2 separate regions of the Homo sapiens genome follow, and region 1 is linked to region 2. The links are contacts of gene promoters, found by promoter capture Hi-C in human tissues and cell types (Jung and others, 2019). All regions are on one chromosome and are shown on one strand. The core of a region is centred on a gene start or on the middle of the fragment in contact, and the rest is flanking DNA. Distances in the headings are between cores, read along the strand shown. Region 1 has its middle 20 kb from the start of CXCR3. Region 2 holds the start of ZMYM3 (zinc finger MYM-type containing 3).

Evidence for each region. The method cuts DNA at HindIII sites, captures the fragments that hold promoters and counts their contacts. A contact is called where the count stands out against the background at its distance.
Region 1: a contact is called between a fragment that was not itself captured here and the fragment with the promoter of ZMYM3 in region 2, in 1 of the 25 tissues and cell types used here (pancreas).

Annotation. Positions count from the first base shown.
Region 1 is chrX:71,636,163-71,641,461 of GRCh38, reverse strand. No RefSeq gene overlaps it. Among named protein-coding and RNA genes, the nearest start is that of CXCR3, 20 kb to the right of the region's middle. The HindIII fragment of the contact is 8,298 bases long and covers 1-5,299 here.
Region 2 is chrX:71,252,855-71,258,186 of GRCh38, reverse strand. It overlaps ZMYM3 (zinc finger MYM-type containing 3), which reads left to right and starts at 4,047. Exons shown (of 25, transcript NM_201599.3): 1 at 4,047-4,158; 2 at 4,913-5,332. The coding sequence starts at 4,932. It overlaps LOC105373247 (a long non-coding RNA gene), which reads right to left and starts at 3,379. Exons shown (of 4, transcript XR_938434.2): 1 at 3,187-3,379. RefSeq lists silencers at 3,432-3,481, 3,502-3,551. The HindIII fragment of the contact is 7,971 bases long and covers 1-5,332 here.

The DNA of each region.
Region 1 (5,299 bases), core at 877-3,376, 390 kb before region 2:
ATAGTTTAGAGAGAAAGAAGAAGGCAGACGTGACAGATTTTAGACCTGAGTGACTGAGAGAATTATGGCACCACTAGCAAAAATAGGGAATTCAGGAAAAGGAAGTGATTTGCGGAGAGAGAAATTTTTGCCTCGAACATATTAAATTTGAGGTGAGTGTAGGAGAGCAAGTATAGCTGCCCTGTAGGCAATTAGAAGCACAGGTCAGGAATTCTAGAAAGAGGTGAGAAGGTACCAATTGGGGAGTTTTCTCTTTAGAGGTGGTGATTGAAACTAGGGGTCGACAAGCCAGGTGCAGTGGCTCATGCCTGTAATCCCAGCACTTTGGGAGGCCGAGGTGGGCGGATCACAAGGTCAGGAGTTCGAGACCAGCCTGACCAACATGGTGAAACCACCCCCCCTACTAAAAATACAAAAATTAGCCGGATGTGGTGGCACGAGCCTGTAATCCCAGCTACTCAGGAGGCTGAGGCAGGAGAATCGCTTGAACCTGGGAGGTGGAGATTGCAGTGAGCCGAGATCATGCCACTGCACTCCAGCCTGGGCAACAGACTGAGACTCCATCTCAAAATAAATAAATAAATAAAATAAATAAATAAATAAATAAACTAGGGATCAACAAACTACAGCCCATAGGATAAATCAAACCAACTACCTGTTTTTAGATGGCTTGCAAGCTGAAAACAGGAGACATATATATATATATATATATATATATATATATATATATATATATATATATTTGTTTTTCTTGAGTCAGAGTCTCACTCTATCACCCAGGCTAGAATGCAGTGGTGCCACCTCAGCTCACTGCAACCTCTGCCTCCCAAGTTCAAGTGATTCTTGTGCCTCAGCCTCCCAAGCAGCTGAGACTACAGGCACACACCATCAAACCCAGCTAATTTTTTGTATTTTTAGTAGAGACAGAGTTTCTCCATGTTGGCCAAGCTGGTCTTGAACTCCTGGCCTCAGGTGATCCGCCTACCTCGGTCTCCCAAAGTGCTGGGATTACAGGCATGAGCCACCGTGCCCGGCCAGTTTTTACATTTTAAATGTTTATATAAAGACCTACAGAATTGCCTTGATTTTGCCTCTTGGCACACAAAGCCAAAGAGATTTACTCTCTGATATTTAGGAAAAGTCTGCCAAGGCCCCATCAAAACCATGAGAGTAGAGGTGCTCACCAAGTGAGTGGTGTCGAGGGAGGAGCACCATGCTTGAGGAAGAGAATAGACAGAGGTAAAACCACAATAAAGCAGCAGTAGAGATCAAGGAAGGAGAGTGTTTCAAAAAAGACAGGTGGGCCAGGGTGGCAAGTGCTAGACAGAGGATGAAGACTGCCGTCTGAATTTGGGAGCCGAGAGGTCATCATGTTAGTGGTTGTTAGGTTGGTGATCAAGTAGAGTGGTGGGAGTAGAAGTCAGATTGCAAGGGATTAACAAGTGAATAGTCGGTGAGCAGGTTGAGGAGCATGTATAGATTATCCTTTGAAAGAGTTTAATGGGCCAGCAAGGTGGCTCATGCCTGTAATCCCAGCACTTTGGGAGGCTGAGGCGGGCGGATCACGAGGTCAGGAGTTTGAGACCAGACTGCCCAACATGGTGAAACCCCGTCTCTACTAAAAAGACAAAAATTAGCTGGGCATGGTGGCTTGCTCCTGTAATCCCAGCTACATGGGAGGCTGAGGCAGGAGAATCACTTGAACCCAGGAAGTGGAGGTTGCAATGAGCCAAGATCGTGCCACTGTTCTCCAGCCTGGGTGACAGAGTGAGACTCTGTCTTGAAAAAAAAAAAGTTTAATGAAGGAATAGGTCAGCATAGGGTGGTATCTGGCGTGGAGCTGAGGTGTCTATAGAATGGAGGAGATCTGAGTGTATTATAAGCAGAGGGGAAGGAGATGTAGAAAGAACAACTGAAGAGGCAAATGAAATGTAAGATCATGGTTGGAGCAAAGCCTGGAGGTAGTGCTCTGGGGTGAGAGTCAGAGGACACTGTTGGCAAGGAAGGGGATGATTCTTCCTCAGCCATGACAGCAGGAGGCCAAGGAGAGGCAGAGAGGCTTTCTGGTAATGAGAGTGGTCCCATAGCATAAGAGGGAAGGACTTTTTCTCCTGCAAACTTGGACATTTGGAAGTTAAAACAGTAAGCAGGGGGTTATCTGGGCCTGGAGACCACCCAGAGACAGGGAGTGTAGAAATGCAAAGTAGCAGTGAGCGCACAGTGAAACGTCTGGCCACGAAGTTCTGTCTTGGCGGAGAGGTGACTGAGACCAGAAAAAGATGGTCTGGGAGAATGAGAATGGTTCAAGGGGCTGGAACCCAAGCTAGAGACAGAGTGAGTTTGGTGGAAGGAAGAGAATTGAAAGAACCAGAGGTTGGCCGGGCAAGGTGGCTCACGCCTGTAATCCCAGCACTTTGGGAGGCCAAGGCAGGTGGATCACCTGAGGTCGGGAGTTTGAGACCAGCCTAGCCAACATGGTGAAACCCTGTTTCTACTAAAAATACAAAAAATTAGTCTGGCATGGTAGTGCATGCTTGTAATCCCAGCTACTCGGGAGGCTGAGGCACGAGAATCGCTTGAAACTGGGAGGCAGAGGTTGCAGTGAGTCGAGATCATGCCATTGCACTCCAGCCTGGGCAACAAGAGCAAAACTCTGTCTCAAAGAAAAAAAAGAAGAAGAACCAGAGGTTATACTCAAATAAGAGGATTTCCAAGTTTAAAATCTTGAAAACGAAACAATGATTGAGTGAACAAGAAGGCATCCTAAGTGCGATTAAATGTGTGGGAGGCTGAATGAGAGTCAAGATGGAGATGACTGAAATTGAAAGGAACAGTTATAGGGTCTCATTTAATCCTCATCACATACATAGGCCATAGAAATGAAAAAACTGAGGCACTGAGAATTTAAGTAACCAGTCCAAAGTCACGCAGCTAGGAAATGGAGGAGGTGAGCTTTGATCAGATCTGTAACTCTCAGATCGAGTTGATTGTGTCATGAAAGGAAGATGGTGCTTTGCTCTCACTGGAGATAAGATCTGGGAAGGGGGTAAAAAAAAGATGACATGGAGAGGGGAGGACAATGTCCTGCAGATGAAGGCAGGTTGAGGCAGAATTAAGCATGAAGTTAGTTTAAAGACTGGGAAAGAAATAGAGAGGATTTAATATGTATAAACAAGTTCCTAAATTAGGAACTTAATTTTTTTTCATCTATTTTTCTGTGCCACATTTAACTAACATGGTTCTTTGGAGGTTATTAGAGTGCAGCACTTTCACTTCGTCTCTCAGTAACTACACAACAGTCTCTGAGGGTAGCTATTATTATTTTGCTCATTTTACTGAGGAAGAAACAGCCTTAAAGACTGTGATCTGTCCATGATCATACAGGAAGTGACAGATACAGGCATGCAGTCCAGATATCGTGTCTTTTGTTGATCCAGCTGAGTGAAAGCAGGACTTACTGCCTGCGCCACCCCTCTGGTGTTGAAGTCATCTCTAAGTCCAGTCCCTTAGCCTGAGGTAACTGAGACCAGAAGAAAGTGATCTGGGAGAATGAGGAGCCGAGCCCCAGGGCCTGAAACCAAGTCCTTGGAGAGAATCACTGAGAATCTTACAAGACGGTGGGAATATAGACCTACCAGGGATAGCCTGTATCTTCAAAGAATTCTTTAAGTGGAGGAAAAAGAATTGTTTTAAAAATTACAATCCAGAAGGCTGAGGTGGGAGGATCACTGGAGCCTGGGAGGCAGAGGTTGCAATGAGCCGAGATCATGCCATTGCACTCCAGCTTAGGCGACAGAGCAAGACCCTGTCTCAAAAAAAAAAAAAAAAAAAAATTAAAATCCGGTATCCAAAATTCTATTCTACGCTGGTGCAGACTGTCCTGTGGGAGCCCAAAAAGAAGCAGTCACTACTGCATTGGAGGTTTGAGGCCAGCTTCTGAAAGGAAGAGATTCCCAATGGATAAGGCAACTGAGTTAGGACAGAGCACATGGGAACACATGCACAGAGGCATGGAGAGGAGCCTGTTGACTCATTTGGTGAACAAACTTGGCAGTATGCTTAGTAAGTGGGACTCTTGTTAAAGAGCCAGGCCACTGGGGCCTTGTGTGTCAGGCTCAGGGCATCGACCTATATACACAGGGCCATGGGGAAGAGCACTGTCGAGTTTTGAACAGGGAAATGATATGATTAGATTTGTATCCTGAGCAATCTTTCCATATCAAGGCAAGACTGGGCACAGGGGAATCAGGTAAGAGGGGCTGTCACAGCGGGCCAGTAGAGAGATGCCAGCTTGAGCCTCGGGAGGAAGGGCAGAGAGGAGGGAACCTATTTAAGAACATACGCTTCTGAGCACTTGTGCTGGTAGGGTTGCTGAATCATCGCAGATGCACCTGTTGCCTAGATACTACCCAGCTGCTCTCCAAAAAGGCTGCACCAATTTACGTAGGAAATGTTCTTTAGAGCACCCCAGCTATTTTTCATTCTTTCTCAGTCTTCCCATAATGCTATTGCATATTAACTGCCCTGTGAAGGAGAATCATATTCTCTGATGTGGATAAAGAAAATCAAAAGCTTCATGTTAAACTTGTGATTCCCCGTGTACTATGCATGGCTCCCCCCTGCTTTCTCTTCTACTATGCCCAGGCTCCTCAGTACATTGAAAGGTGTATCTTTCTTTATTGTTAGTCATCCCAGACTATAAATCTAGGTATACAAGAAACATTGCCTCTCTTTATTGTTTTTCTATATCAATCTAATTTCAATTCTGCACTCCGTCTTGGCAGAGTCTGGGAAATTCACCCTGAGTCATCCTCACATTTCCTGCTTCCCTGATGTCAAGAAGAGGTCTTGGGACCTTTCACGGTATCAGACATCTAGGGGCAGAGGGGTAGAGGGTCTTGTTGTCTGTAAGTTTCTGCTAAGCCATTCATTCTACCCTGTTCATTGCTGCTTCTGTGGCTGAGGAAATCTGCCAGGCAGCTGGAAGGCCTGCAGTTTCCGGTGCATCTCCCTGCACACACCAAGGGACCACTCCTCTTTGGGGAATTACCAGCTCCTCAGAGTGTTACTAGGAAGCAGGGCCCGGGGACCCACAGCTCTCTCTCTCCTCCCTCTTCTCCTTCTACCCAGGCTGTATACCTCTCCTGAGGCAATAAAGCACATAGCTGGCTTCATTTTGATAAGGTGTGGGGAGAAAGAGGGAAACACAAGGAGGGAAGATACAGGCTTCAGCCTATGGCACCTAAAGGGATAAACTGATTGTCTACTAAAAATACAAAAAAATTAGCCGGATGTGGTG
Region 2 (5,332 bases), core at 2,798-5,297:
TAGCCAACATGGTGGAACCCATCTGTACTAAAAAAAATACAAAAATTAGCTGGTGTGGTGGCACACGCCTGTAGTTCCAGCTACTCGGGAGGCTGAGGCATAAGGATCGCTTGAACCTGAGAAGCAGAGGTTGCAGTGAGCCGAGACCATGCCACTGCACTCCAGCCTGGGAGACAGAGTGAGACTCTGTCTCAAAAAAAAAAAAAAAAAGTTTAGTAAATACAAAATGCAGAAAATTATTTTTATTTATATATTTATTTATTTTTTTGAGACAGAGTCTTGCTCTATCGCCCAGGCTGGGGACAGTGGCACAATCTCGGCTTACTGCAACCTCCAGCCTTACCCTCTTGAGTAGCTGGGACCACAGGCGTGCACCACTACGCCTGGATAATTTTTTGTGCTTTTGGTAGAGATGGGGTTTCACCGTGTTGCCCAGTCTGGTCTCCAACTCCTGAGCTCAAGCAATCCACCCACCTCGACCTCCCAAAGTGCTGGGATCACAGGCGTGAGCCTCTGCGCTCGGCCTAAATTTTTTTAAATAAAAATTTTATTTACGGTCAGGCGCGGTGGCTCACGCCTGTGATCCCAGCACTTTGGGAGGCCGAGGCGGGTGGATCACGAGGTCAGGAGATTGAGACCATCCTGGCTAACACGGTGAAACCCCATCTCTACTAAAAATACAAAAAATTAGCCGGGCGTGGTGGCGGGCGCCTGTAGTCCCAGCTACTCGGGAGCCTGAGGCAGGAGAATGACGTGAACCCGGGAGGTGGAGCTTGCGGTGAGCTGAGATTGGGCCACTGCACTCCAGCCTGGGCGACAGAGCAAGACTCCGTCTCAAAAACAAAACAAAACAAAACAAAACATATATATATATATATTTGAGAGATGAAGTCTCGCTCTGTGGCCCAGGCTGGAGTGCAGTGGCTCAGTCTCAGCTTACCACAACCTCCGCCTCCCGGGTTCAAGCGATTCTCCTGACTCCCAAAGTGCTGGGATTACAGGAGTTACTGCACCAGGCCCACTTTATTTTTTAGAGCAGTTTTGGCATCACTGCAAAATTGAGCTGAAAGTATCAAGAGTCCTTTGTACCCCTCTCCACACACAGACACAGCCTCCCTATCAACATCCTGTCCAGAGTGGTAAATTTCTTGCAGTGATGAATATACAGTGACACATTATCAACCAAAGGCCATAGTTTACATAAGGGCTTCCTTTTGGTGTTGTACATTCTATGGGTTTTAATTTTTTTAAATAAAGATTTTATTTTTTAAGAGCAATTTTAGTTTCACAGCAAAACTGACAGGTAGGTCCGGAGAGTCCCATATACCTCCTTCCCCCATGCAGTCACGGCTCCCCTGACTACCAACATCCCTATCAGAGTGGTAAATTTGTTAAAATCGATGAACCTACATTAACACATCATTACTAACCAAAGCCTGCGGTTTACATTAGAGTTAGTTCACCCTTGGTGTTTACATTCTGTATCTTTGAACAAATGTATACTTACAAGTATCCACTATTACAGTATCATGAGAGTATTTTCGCTACCGTAAAAATCCTCTGTGCTGTCTGCCATTAGTTGTTTTTTGTTTTTGTTTTTTTAATGTGGGGTTTTGTTTTGTTTGGTTTGAGACAGAGCCCTCGTCTGTCGCCCCGGGCTGGAGTGCAGTGGCGCCATCTGAGCTCGCTGCAATTTCTGCCTCCCAGCTCAAGTGATCCTCACACCTCCGCCTCCTGAGTAGCTGGGACTACAGGTGCACACCAGCACACCTTGCTAATTTTTTGTATTTTTTGTAGAGAAGGGGTTTCACCATGTTGCTCAGGCTGGTTTGGAACTCCCGGGCTCAAAGGATCCAACCGTCTTGGCATCCCAAAGTGCCAGGATTACAGGCGTGAGTCACTGCGCCAGACTTAAAATGTGGTTGTTAATGACTACGTCTGTTGCATAACCAAAATCCCCTATTATTGGGCATTTAGATTGTTTCCTTATCTGTTTTAAAGAGGAGAAAACTAAGGCCCTTCACTTGACAAGTCACTTGTCCAAAGTCACCTGGCTAAAAAGTAGGCAGAACTGATATTAGAAATCTGGTCTGACTCCAGAACCCATTCTTAGGCCACCACACTGCGTCTAGAATTAATAACACACCACTTAACCCCGTTAGATCAGCTCCCCTCAACTTGAAAGATAGTGACCAGGCACCTCCACAAGCAGAGCAGCCAAGGATTCAAGTATATGTTGAGGAAGGCAGGCAATACAGAAAAAACTAGGTGGCTCAACTGAGATGGAACAAGCAGAAAATGCAAAGGGGAGGTCCAGGAATAGAAATAAACAGGAGGTAGGAGATGGGTACACAGAATGCTGGTTAAGACAAAGAGAAAGCTGGATTTGGGAAATCTAAAAGTAAGAAACTCTGGCTTTTATCTCTGTATGTAGGAGGGAGCAAAGATAACCTCAAGGCCATGTGGGGAGCTAGCAAGGATAAGGTTTCTGGGAAAAGGAATGAGAAAAGGGAGGGTAAACTCCCGAGGACTACAAGAGCAGGAGAGGCTTTGTGTGGCCAGGAGGAGAGGCCAGAAGTCAACGAGGCAGGCTAGAATAGGCACTGGATACCAAACCTTCCTGTTCCTAAGGAGACTTCCTTCCAGCCTGAGCCTCCTCTAGTAGTTCGGCTACTAAATGCTCTCAGCCCTTAGGGGCTGTGGTGGGAAGTGGGGAGCGGGGATTGTAAAGTGCTCTAACTATTAATATAATGCGGACTGAGAATGGATGCTGGCACAATTTTTTAAAGGCAGTAGGCTTAACGCTAGTGCCACCTACCCCTACTCCACTTCTCTAGCCTAACCTCAGCCACACCCACATGCTAAGGACCATCCAGGAGGGGGGAGCGTGTAGCGCGCCTGCGTGCTCGTGCGCACGAGAAGCAGAGAGGCAGAGAAGGAGACAAAAAGAGATAGGGGGAGAGAGAGAGAGAGAGCGAGAAGAGAGAGACAGACAAGGACAGAAAGGGGGCTGGAGGAGAAAGAGAGAGAGAGATACAGAGAGAGAGAGAGAGAGAGAGAGAGAGAGAGAGAGAGAGAGAGAGAGAGAGAGAGAGAGAGAGATCAGCCCTGGTGAGGGAGGAAAACTCCATAGATAATACAGGGAGCTCCTGCAGGAAGACTCAGGGAGAAGATCCCAGAACTTACCCTAAGACTGTTGAGAGAGTAGGGGGTAGCTTTGCAGGACCTGGTTTGGGGGTCATCAAGCAGTAACGGTTACTGCACAGGCGTTGCCACTGAGCCAGAGCCATTTAACCCGACCTGTGTGGCTGGGGATCAAGCTTCAGATACCCCATAACTCTGACTCTCAGACTGTTTTGGGGGCCCCGTGGCTGCAGACAAGGGAAGGAGGGGCACGTGAGGGCTGGGTCCCTGCCTCCCCCCGTCCTCCGCTGTCACTCACTACCCCAACAGTCGCCCAGGGGGCGGGACCCGGAGAGGTGGGGATGGGGGAGGGTAATCTTGGCAGGCGCCTGCTGCATGGCGTAGGTAGGGACTATTGAGGGGGGCGGACGCCGAGGGGGTGAACACGAGTGGGAAGCTAAGAGAGACACGGGGAGGGGGAGGGGACCGGGAACCATTTGAATGAGAGGAGGGGATCACGGGTAGAGTGGGCTCCAGGAGGTAGGGCGAGCAGGGTGTGACGGGGGCCAGACTCTTGAGCCAGGTAAGGGGAGCAGGTGCGTAGATCTGTGTTTTTTGTGGGTGAGCGCACTCGGCCCTTGGGTGGAAAGGGGACGCCGCCTTTCCCGGGGGGCCGGCTTCAAAGCTCCAGAGGCTATCTTTTCCTTCTCAACTAACGGGGCCCCGGGCGGGGGCTCAGGCGCCGTCTCTAGTGGCTGCATTCCACTCCGCAATTTCCAGGCGGCCACTGGACTGGGAGTCTCGCGCCGGGGGCCGGCGCTGTCTCGCGAGCCCCCTCCTCGAGCCAGCCAATGGGGTTGGTTGCTGGCACCGCCCGCCCGCCTGGTGCAGAGCGCTGGGCGCTGCGAGCGGCGCTGCCATTTAAAGGGGCCGCGACCCCTGTCCCGGCTGCTAGGGAGGGAGGTAGAGAAGGAGCGCGGGGCCGTCGCTGTCTGCAGTTCTAGGCTTGTAGCCTTTGCACTAACCCTGCCGCAGGTAGGGGTCGGGCCTGCTCAAGCCGAACCGAACCTGCAAGCGGGATCTTGCAGTAGCCGGGAGGCGGTGGTGGGGGGGTCTAAGGAGAGATCGTAGCTCCAAAATGTCTTCCTGTAAATGCCTGAGGTTGGGGGTGGGCAACAGGAGAAGGGAGGACTGGAGGAGCAATGGGAAAGGGGGACGGGGCTGAGGAAGTGGGCGACCTGAAAGGTAACTGGGGGGAAGGGGTTGCGAAGGGCAGTTTGTGGGGGCGGGGGAAGGGCCGAGGGAGGACCTAGCAACGCGGGGAGGGGGGGTGGGGCCAGACAGGGTGGGTAAAGACTGGGGAGCTGGGGGGCTCCTGCAGAGTGGGGAGGGAATAGAAACTGAGATCGCGGGGGCGGGAAAGGCTCCTGGTGGCGACGGCCTTAGGAGACTCTAAGGGGGCGTTCAGCCTGAGTTGCGGGGGGTAAAAGGTAAGGGGGGAAGGGAATGGGAGTTGCAGTCGAGTAGGGGGGTGGGCGGGTAGAACGACCGACTGCCTGGCCAGTGTGGGCACGGGGCCAGGGCGGGGAACGCCTCTCCCCACTGGGGGCGCTGTATTGGGGGGAGTGGTCATTAGGACTAAAGCCTTCGGAAATGCTTGTAGATTGTGGTGGTGGGGGCTGCTCATGAGAAATCCAAGTGGATGATGGGGTGTGTCTCAGAGCCTATATAAGAAGGAATTCAGGCTAAGACCACCTCTACTGCCCCCTCTTCTACTCCTAATCTGCAGTACATATCCAGCCATACTCATGGACCCCAGTGATTTCCCCAGTCCATTTGACCCATTGACCCTGCCAGAGAAGCCCCTGGCTGGAGACCTACCAGTAGACATGGAATTTGGAGAGGATCTACTGGAATCCCAGACTGCCCCAACTCGAGGATGGGCCCCCCCTGGCCCTTCTCCATCCTCGGGAGCCCTGGACCTGCTTGATACCCCTGCTGGCCTGGAAAAAGACCCTGGAGTCCTGGATGGAGCCACTGAGTTGCTGGGGCTGGGGGGGCTGCTCTATAAAGCCCCCTCTCCCCCGGAGGTGGACCACGGTCCTGAGGGAACCCTGGCATGGGATGCAGGAGATCAGACCCTAGAGCCTGGACCAGGGGGCCAGACCCCTGAGGTGGTACCACCTGATCCAGGGGCTGGGGCAAATTC